Regions from separate parts of the Homo sapiens genome. Here region 2 is linked to region 1. Evidence: promoter capture Hi-C in 16 types of primary human blood cells and fetal thymus (Javierre and others, 2016). All regions are on one chromosome and are shown on one strand. The core of a region is centred on a gene start or on the middle of the fragment in contact, and the rest is flanking DNA. Distances in the headings are between cores, read along the strand shown.

The links. Contacts are between HindIII fragments. The CHiCAGO score rates a contact against its expected background, and 5 or more counts as called.
Region 2: a contact is called between a fragment that was not itself captured here and the fragment with the promoter of KLRC1 in region 1, in 1 of 17 cell types (total CD8 T cells). The highest score is 5.8, in total CD8 T cells.

Annotation. Positions count from the first base shown.
Region 1 is chr12:10,451,878-10,455,732 of GRCh38, reverse strand. It overlaps KLRC1 (killer cell lectin like receptor C1), which reads left to right and starts at 2,356. Exons shown (of 7, transcript NM_002259.5): 1 at 2,356-2,535. The HindIII fragment of the contact is 4,540 bases long and covers 181-3,855 here.
Region 2 is chr12:10,561,072-10,565,340 of GRCh38, reverse strand. The region is part of intron 1 of LINC02446 (long intergenic non-protein coding RNA 2446); the gene reads right to left. Among named protein-coding and RNA genes, the nearest start is that of LINC02446, 9.8 kb to the right of the region's middle. The HindIII fragment of the contact is 2,885 bases long and covers 874-3,758 here.

The DNA.
Region 1 (3,855 bases), core at 1,107-3,606:
AAGGAAACTTATAGATCTCCATTTATTTGGATCAGTTGCTAAAGCTTTATTAGTTTCCTTTGGTGGTGTCATATTTGTCTGATGCTTTGTTATTTGTTTATCCTTGTACTGATGTCTGTGCATTTGAAAGAGCAGACTCTCTTTCAGTCTTTACAGACTGGTTTCGGTAGGTTAAAAGCTTCTCCTGTTAGTGTCCTGGGCTGATGAGATTGCCTTCAGTATCATGGTTGAATGGGGTTACAGCCAGATCACATGGTTGCTTACGGGTCCAGAGTGGGATCTTTGGTTCATGATCCTTTTACTAGGGCTTCTAGCAGGCTTGTATCCTATTTAGTGCCTCAGAGGGCCAAACTGGCTCTAGAATCATACTGTATAGGGCTGGGGAGGGGATGAGGGTCCACTTCAAGGTCTGTAAATGGTGGGTCTATTATTAGGTGTGTAGTTGGGGAAGAGTTTATCTAGTTTGCTGGGAAGGCTGCTCATGGGTCTCTGAGTGGGTTCCTCAACCTGTGGCACAGAGGAGTTAGTGCTAAGTCACAAGGTTTCCTCGGGGTCTATAGCTGAAACCAGTGTCTTCATGTCTGTCTCTGGGGTCATGGTTGAGTGTGTTTTCTGGCAGGTCTGTGGGCAGGCAGATTTGCCTCAGACTGTAGTTGAGTTGGGCTGGAGCTGGATCCAGAATTGTTTCAAGATCTGAAATAAAACTAAGGTCTGTGCCTGCAGGGGCACTAATGATGTCTCTCTCCAGGTCCCTGTATGGGCAAACTGCTCTCTAGCATAGCTGAGAAGTGTCGAAGCCCCTTTTCTGTCCAATTAAAGGATCTGCTGTGAAACCTAGGTCAATGGTCTCCTAGTTGGGACATGGATGCACATGTCCTCCCTCTGTATCCCTGAGCTGGCAAGACTGCTCACAGTCCACAGCTGAGAAGGGTGAAGGTCAAGATTCAAGGCTGTTTCAGAAACTACCGTGGAACTGAAGTCAGCAAGCCTGTACTGCTGACAAAGATGATTGAGTCTCACAGCAATTTCCTGTGATTAACTCAGGTCACAGTTGAGAGGAGTTTGAGTGGAGATTCAGGGCCATTTTAGTATCTTCTGTAGGACAGAGGTCAGCAAGCATGCCCCAGAGGTACAGATGTATATGTCTCCCAGGAAGTCTCTGTGGGTGAAGGACTGATCTCAAGTTGTGGCTGACACTAGTTAAAGCCAAGTTAGAGGGCTGTTTCAGGGTCTACATTGAGACTACAGTTGATATGCCTACCTCCTGAGACACTAGTGTGTGAGTCTCCTCCTGGGCCCCTGGGCAAATGGTTTTGGCAGCATGACCAAGGCCTAAATGGGGCTGAAGGCAAGCACAGGAGGATGGGTCCCTTTTCAGGTCTGGAGATGGAATCACTGTTGGTAAGTCTGCCACTTGGATGCAAATCTATTCCCTAAAACAACCTTCCTAGGTCTTGGGTTCCACTGGCATTTTACAAACTCCTACTTGAATTCCAAACTCCCTCAAAGGAACTTTTGTCTGTGGATGGCTGAAAAATTATTGTTGCTGTGGGGGCATATGTGTGGGGGACCACCTATTCTGCCAATTTACTGACTTTCCTCCTAGTAAGATTTTAAAATTACTTTTTCCCCATACATAGTTTGACTTCAGTTTTTGTCATTTACAACTAAATATTTCTATGAAAGTCGACATAATTTGTTATGGCGGAGGATGAATAAATGAAGAATGTAATGAATAGCTATTTAATATTTCAATTTCTGGTATGCTAATATATTTCAAAATTGATTAATATTTTACCTATCCAAGATATTTTTATCAAGGGTAATCTGAAGATTAAATAATCTATTTTTAAAAATTAAGTGCAAAAATTTAAGAACTAAGAGAAGTTAATAATATAACTTTGGCAATGATGCTTTTTGTGCCAGCTACAATCAATTGAGTAATTACTGCAGTAATTTTTCAGAATAATTAAGGAAAAAATCAGTAGATATCAGTTGATAATATTACTATGAGTTTTAGAATGTTTTCTATTATAATGGAAGTGACATAATAAAATAATATAAAGAAAAGAAGTATGCAATGTTAAGATTTAGCAACCTAGTCTAAAAGGCACTCTTAACAAGGTGAGGGTTGACAATGTTCGTGATCAAGACAGAAAAAAAAAAAATTCTCATAGGCACTTGAAAAATGAACCAACTAAATGACACACTTTCAAAGTCAACCTTGTACTTTTAATAGACCAAGTATCCTATATTTTGGAGGTGTGTGATGAGATAAAACTGATTTCACAATAGCCCATGTGTAGAATTTCCTGTTCAAACCTTAGTAACACGTTGATGAGAAATCTACTTTTTCCACTCTTGACTCACTCTGAGCCTTCACAGGGCAGTCTGCGAAGATTGCAGGCATTGTTTGTTCTTGTCTTGGATTTATGCCTTTAAATTTCACCTTTTATTACACAGCTATAGCAGGCCTTTTTATGAGACTAACCTGGCCTCTCCACTAAAGGATGTGTGACTTTCTGGGGACAGAAGGTATGTATTGCTACTCTCCAACTCTCTACTAGCCTACCTCATTTAGTGGGTGATTTCAAGTGCTCAATATGATACAAAGGAGGTATAATTAATATACAATAAAATCAAAGTAGAATATTGCTGTCTTCATTTGAATAACTCAGGGTAAAAACCTAAAATATGAAATATGTTGAAGGATTTCTTAAAGTTTTCAAATTATTGTTTGTGGAAATCTAGTGGGTTTGTTGATCAATATCGTTTAAGGGAAAGCTATTAACATCACAATAATGAACAATTAATTTTGTATTTTGTAATCAGTACATCATGTATCTTTGAATAATAATTTATATTTAGCTTAGCCATTAAAGATTATTAAAATAAATCAATCAATTGATGAAAGCCAAATACAATTCCTCAGACACGTAGATTAGAGAAAAGCAGTTTTTATTTTTAATAAAAATCAGAATGAGGTAGATTACATAAAATGCTAAAGGTATTACAAAGCAATAAAAATACTTTTTAAAAATTGATCAAAATATTGCAAAAAAAGATGTAGCGCATGGACATAGGAGACTTATCTGAAGATTTATTTTCCATGCTTTAACTGACATGAATCAGAAACAGTAACATAACAATTGTGACTAAAATAATAATTAAAGTAGCTAATGCTTATTGAGAACTTTAAGTGCCAGGTTGAGTGGTAAATGTTTTACATGCAACGTTTTATATGTTCTTATGCCCATTTTAGATTAACAAACTGGGTTATTAAAAATAGAATAACTTTTTAAAGGTCGCACATTATAAGTGTCAAAGCTAGAATTAATTCTAGATCTCACTGACTCCAGAGCCCATTGACTAAATGATTTAATTACATTATCTGAAATTTTACAAGTACTTATACAACTAAAGTGGCCTTTACTCACTTTGACAACCATAAAATCATTCTATAAGTTTAAATGAAATGTGCTTTAACATGAATTACCTATACTTTTATTTATCATTTTTTGGTTCATAATTTAGCCAGGAAATAAATTACCAATTACTAATTAAATTACCAATACTTCTGTAAGTATTAACAATTTATGTAGTGTTCCTAATACTATTTAGGTTATGCATAAGTTAACTGTGTCACATAGCATTTTCTGTCATATACAAATATTTAATTTTTTATAATTTTTAATAAATAATTTTTAATAATTTCTTAGAACATTTCAGCCATTAAGAAAAGACCATTTAATTACCTCTATTGATTTTCATTAATGTGTATAAATTACTAATTAAAAGTAATGTAGTGCAAGAAATTTTTATATATATATATGTCAACTTTACTATTACTCATGT
Region 2 (4,269 bases), core at 1,067-3,566, 110 kb before region 1:
AAAAAACAACCCCATCAAAAAGTGGGTGAAGGATATGAACAGATACTCCCCCAAAGAACACATTTATGCTGCCAACAGACATAGGAGAAAAAGCTCATCATCACTGGTCATTAGAAAAATGCAAATCAAAACCACAATGAGATACCATCTCATGCCACTTAGAATGGCAATCATTAAACAGTCAGGAAATAACAGATGCTGGAGAGACTGTGGAGAAATAGAAACGCTTTTACACTGTTGGTGGGAGTGTAAATTAGTTCAACCATTGTGGAAGACAGTGTGGCGATTCCTCAAGGATCTAGAACCAGAAATACCATTGGACTTAGCAATCCCATTACTGGGTATATACCCAAAGGATTATAAATCATTCTACTATAAAGACACATGTACATGTATGTTTATGGCAGCACTGTTCACAATAGCAAAAACTTGGAACCAACCCAAATGTCCATCAATAATAGACTGGATAAAGAAAATGTGGCACATATACACCATAAAATACTAAGCAGCCATAAAAAAGGATGAGTTCCCGTCCTTTGCAGGGACATGGATGAAGCTGGAAACCATCATTCTCAGCAAAGCAACACAGGAACAGAAAGTCAACCACCACATGTTCTCACTCATAAGTGGGAGTTGAACAATGAGAATACATGGACACAGGGAGGCAAACATCACACACCAGGGCCTGTCAGAGGGTGGGGGGCTAGGGGAGGGATAGCATTAGGAGAAATACCTAATGTAGATGACGGGTCGATGGGTGCAGCAAACCACCATGGCACGTGTATACCTATGTAACAAACCTGCACGTTCTGCACATGTATCCCAGAACTTAAAGTATAATTCAAAAATAATAATAATAATGAAAAGGAAGCTTACTACAAAACTTTCATTTCTCTTTTCCTAGGATATAGAATTTCTAAGTGGCCCTTAAATAATACAATAAAGCATACATAATTTGTAATAATCCTAACATAAAATATCAGTATATAATAGAGATAGGATAATACATAATGAAATGTTGGTTGAGACTTGAAACGTATCATTTATGATGGAGATATTAGGTTATAAAAATCCAAAAACATGTGAAAGATGAGAATTTGAAATGTCTTATTTTTATAACAAAAGAAGTTTAACTCTAAAATAGGAGATGACTTCATGGCCTGCAGCTGGAGTTAATTATCGTGGCAAAAACAAACGGGTCCCAAACTGACTAAAAATCAGTTGCTTGACCAGCCATTTACTGAAATATTTTGCTTATTGGTCTAGGGAGATCACTACAAGCCCAGAAAGATGTAAAAGGATGCATTAATACAACTAATGGAAGTTATCAAGTGGAATTATAGCCTTAGAGAAGAATAAAAATTATAGGAATAACAAAAGAAATGAAGTTTAAAAACTATTGTTATATTTTAGGATAGGTTTAAGAGTAAGCAATAGGTTTTGTAATAATTTTCTTTGGGTATATTTGCTACTTAAGGTGTTTGAGGTGCTCAAAAGACTTAGCTTAACTAAATCTGTAATTGTAGTTTAAATTTGTATAGGACTTAAGTAATTTTGTATAGGACTTGAGTAATTATGTTGAAATCACTATTCAAATGTTTGAATAGCTTTCTTTCTTTTTTTTATTTTTTTAAGACAGGGTTTCTTGCTCTGTCACCCAGGCTGGAGTGCAATGGGCGATCTTGGTTCACTGCAGCCTCCACCTCCCGACTTCAAGTGATTCTCCTGCCTCAGTCTCCTGAGTAGCTGGGATTACAGGCATGGGCCACCATGCCTGGCTAATTTCTGTATTTTTAGTAGAGATGGGGTTTCACCATGTTGGCTAGGCTGATCTTTGAACTCCTGTCCTCAAGTGATCCGTCCACCTCAGCCTCCCAAAATGCTGGGATTACAGGCATGAGCCACCAGGCCAGGCTCAAATTCTTTTTATTAGTTAATTAGTTAACTATTTGTGTGTAACAAATTACTAAATTATCCCACAACTTATGCTTTTTTTGGGTCAGGAATCCAGCCATGGGTGACTCTGACTTAGAGTTTCTCACAAGGATGCCTTTGGGGTGTGGGTGAGGGCTACAGTCATCTGAAGGCTCAGTTGGGGCAGACTCATATGCAGCCTCATGCACATGCTGTTGGCTGGTGTGAGGTCCTCACTCACTGTTAACAGGAGAAATGTCAATGCCTTGCCTCATAGACCTCTCCATAGAGCTACTCACTTCATGGCAGTTTGTTATTCTGTTTTCTGCTGGGGACGTGTATGTGGGAGAGGGGAGTGGGAGAGAAAGAGGGAGAGAAAGAGAAACAGAGATGCCAACTTGAGCACACACTCTGGGAAGAAGATTATACAATGGCATGAATACCAAGAAGTGGAATGATGACTGGAGTTATTTTAGAGAAAGTCAACCACAATTACATATCATACATTTGATAAAAATGATTCAAATGACAAATATTAGTAAATATTAGTCACCACTTGTGAAAGCCTTTGGTAAAATTTATAGTGGTAAATTTGCATTATGTATCCCCATTAAACTACACATTCCTGGAAATCATGCATGGAGACTTCATCTTTTTCATCAGCAGGGAATAGTACTACCATGTGGTAGGTACTCCAAAAACTCAGGTTGAAGAGATGAATGAATGAGCATTGTTTGAGTTTGTAATCTTCATTTTACATGGCTCCTGATAATTTTTAGAAATCCAAACAGCAAGAATGCTTTCTGACAACGTATAAGACTTGTGCTATTTGCCATCACCTTATAAATTTAATTTTGCTCATTACAGTTTTCAAAAGGTTTTTCACTTCTGATTCTGTAATTTTGTACTAGGCCACCAGATGGCATCACCACATAAACCAAGCTCTAAAATCAAGGCTTATTTGAAAATTAGTCTTGCTGGTCAGAATGAAGTAATAACTATATTCTCATAAACTGCTGTAGCAAATGTTAGTAGATAACTACTGCACACAAATTTAGCAAAATATATTGATAACCTTAAAAAATGGTAGTACTTTTTGAGCCAATGAGTCTACTAGAAATCTATCTTCAGAAAATAATGTGGACAAAATGGTACACACTCAAGATTTTACCTTAGCATTATTGGAATTGTCAAATACCAGGTAAAATCTTGGGTCCAACAATAATGAAAGGGTTAGTATATATGATACAATCATACAATTAAAAAACATACACACTTTCAAATGACTTATGAAGTATTCAATGACATGAGAAATGCTTCTGGCATAATGCTAATTTATGAATTGGGTTGTAAACTAATGTGTGATTCCCAGTATGTTGCATAGAAATTATAGAAAGGAAACATATTAATGTAATTTTATAAGGAAGTGTTTTTCTCTCTTCATATTTCTCCTTGTTACTCCAATTTTTAACAATGACTCCTTGGAACATCATATGTTAATAAGAAAAAATCAAGTTAACAATAACATAACATTAGTTTTTTAGGGCTGGGCATGGTGGCTCACTCCTGTAATCCCAGCCCTTTGGGAGGCTGAGGCAGGTGGATCACCTGATATCAGGAGTTTGAGACTAGCCTGGCCAACATGATGAAACCCCATCTCTACCAAAAAATACTAAAGTTAGCTGTGTGTGGTGGCTCACACCTGTAGTCCCAGCTTACTCAGGAGGCTGAGGCAGCAGAATCCCTTCAATTTGGGAGGCTGAGATTGCAGTGAGCTAAGAAGGCACCATTGCACTCCAGCCTGGGCCACAGAGCAAGACTCTGTGTCAAATAAATTAAAAGCTTTTTAGTACTTATAATTTAAAATTGTTTGTCTTCTACTATGTTAAACCATAAAAATATGCATTCATTCAGCCAGGCATGGTGGTTCATGCCTATAATCTCAGCACTTTGAGAGGCCAATGTGGGAAGATTGTTTGAGGCTAGGAGTTTGAGTCCAGCCTGGGCAACAAAGCAAGACCCTGTCTCTACAAAAAGGGAAAAATTTTAAAAATTAGCTGGGCATGGTGGCACATGCCCATAGTTCTTGCTACTCAGGGAGCCGAGATGGGAGGATTGCCTGAGCCCGAGAGACAATTCAAAGTAGAGGCTGCAGTGATCTATGATCAGGCCACTACACTGCGCCCTGGGCAACAGAGTGAAACCCTGTCCCAAACAAAAAACAAAAATCAAAGAAAAAGCATTCATTCAGCAATTATTTATTAGTGGTTTTTATAAATTGCACTGTATGTTGATGGTTCAAAAGTGAGTAACACAATTTCTGCCTTCCCTGAATGTATGATCAACTTGGATTGA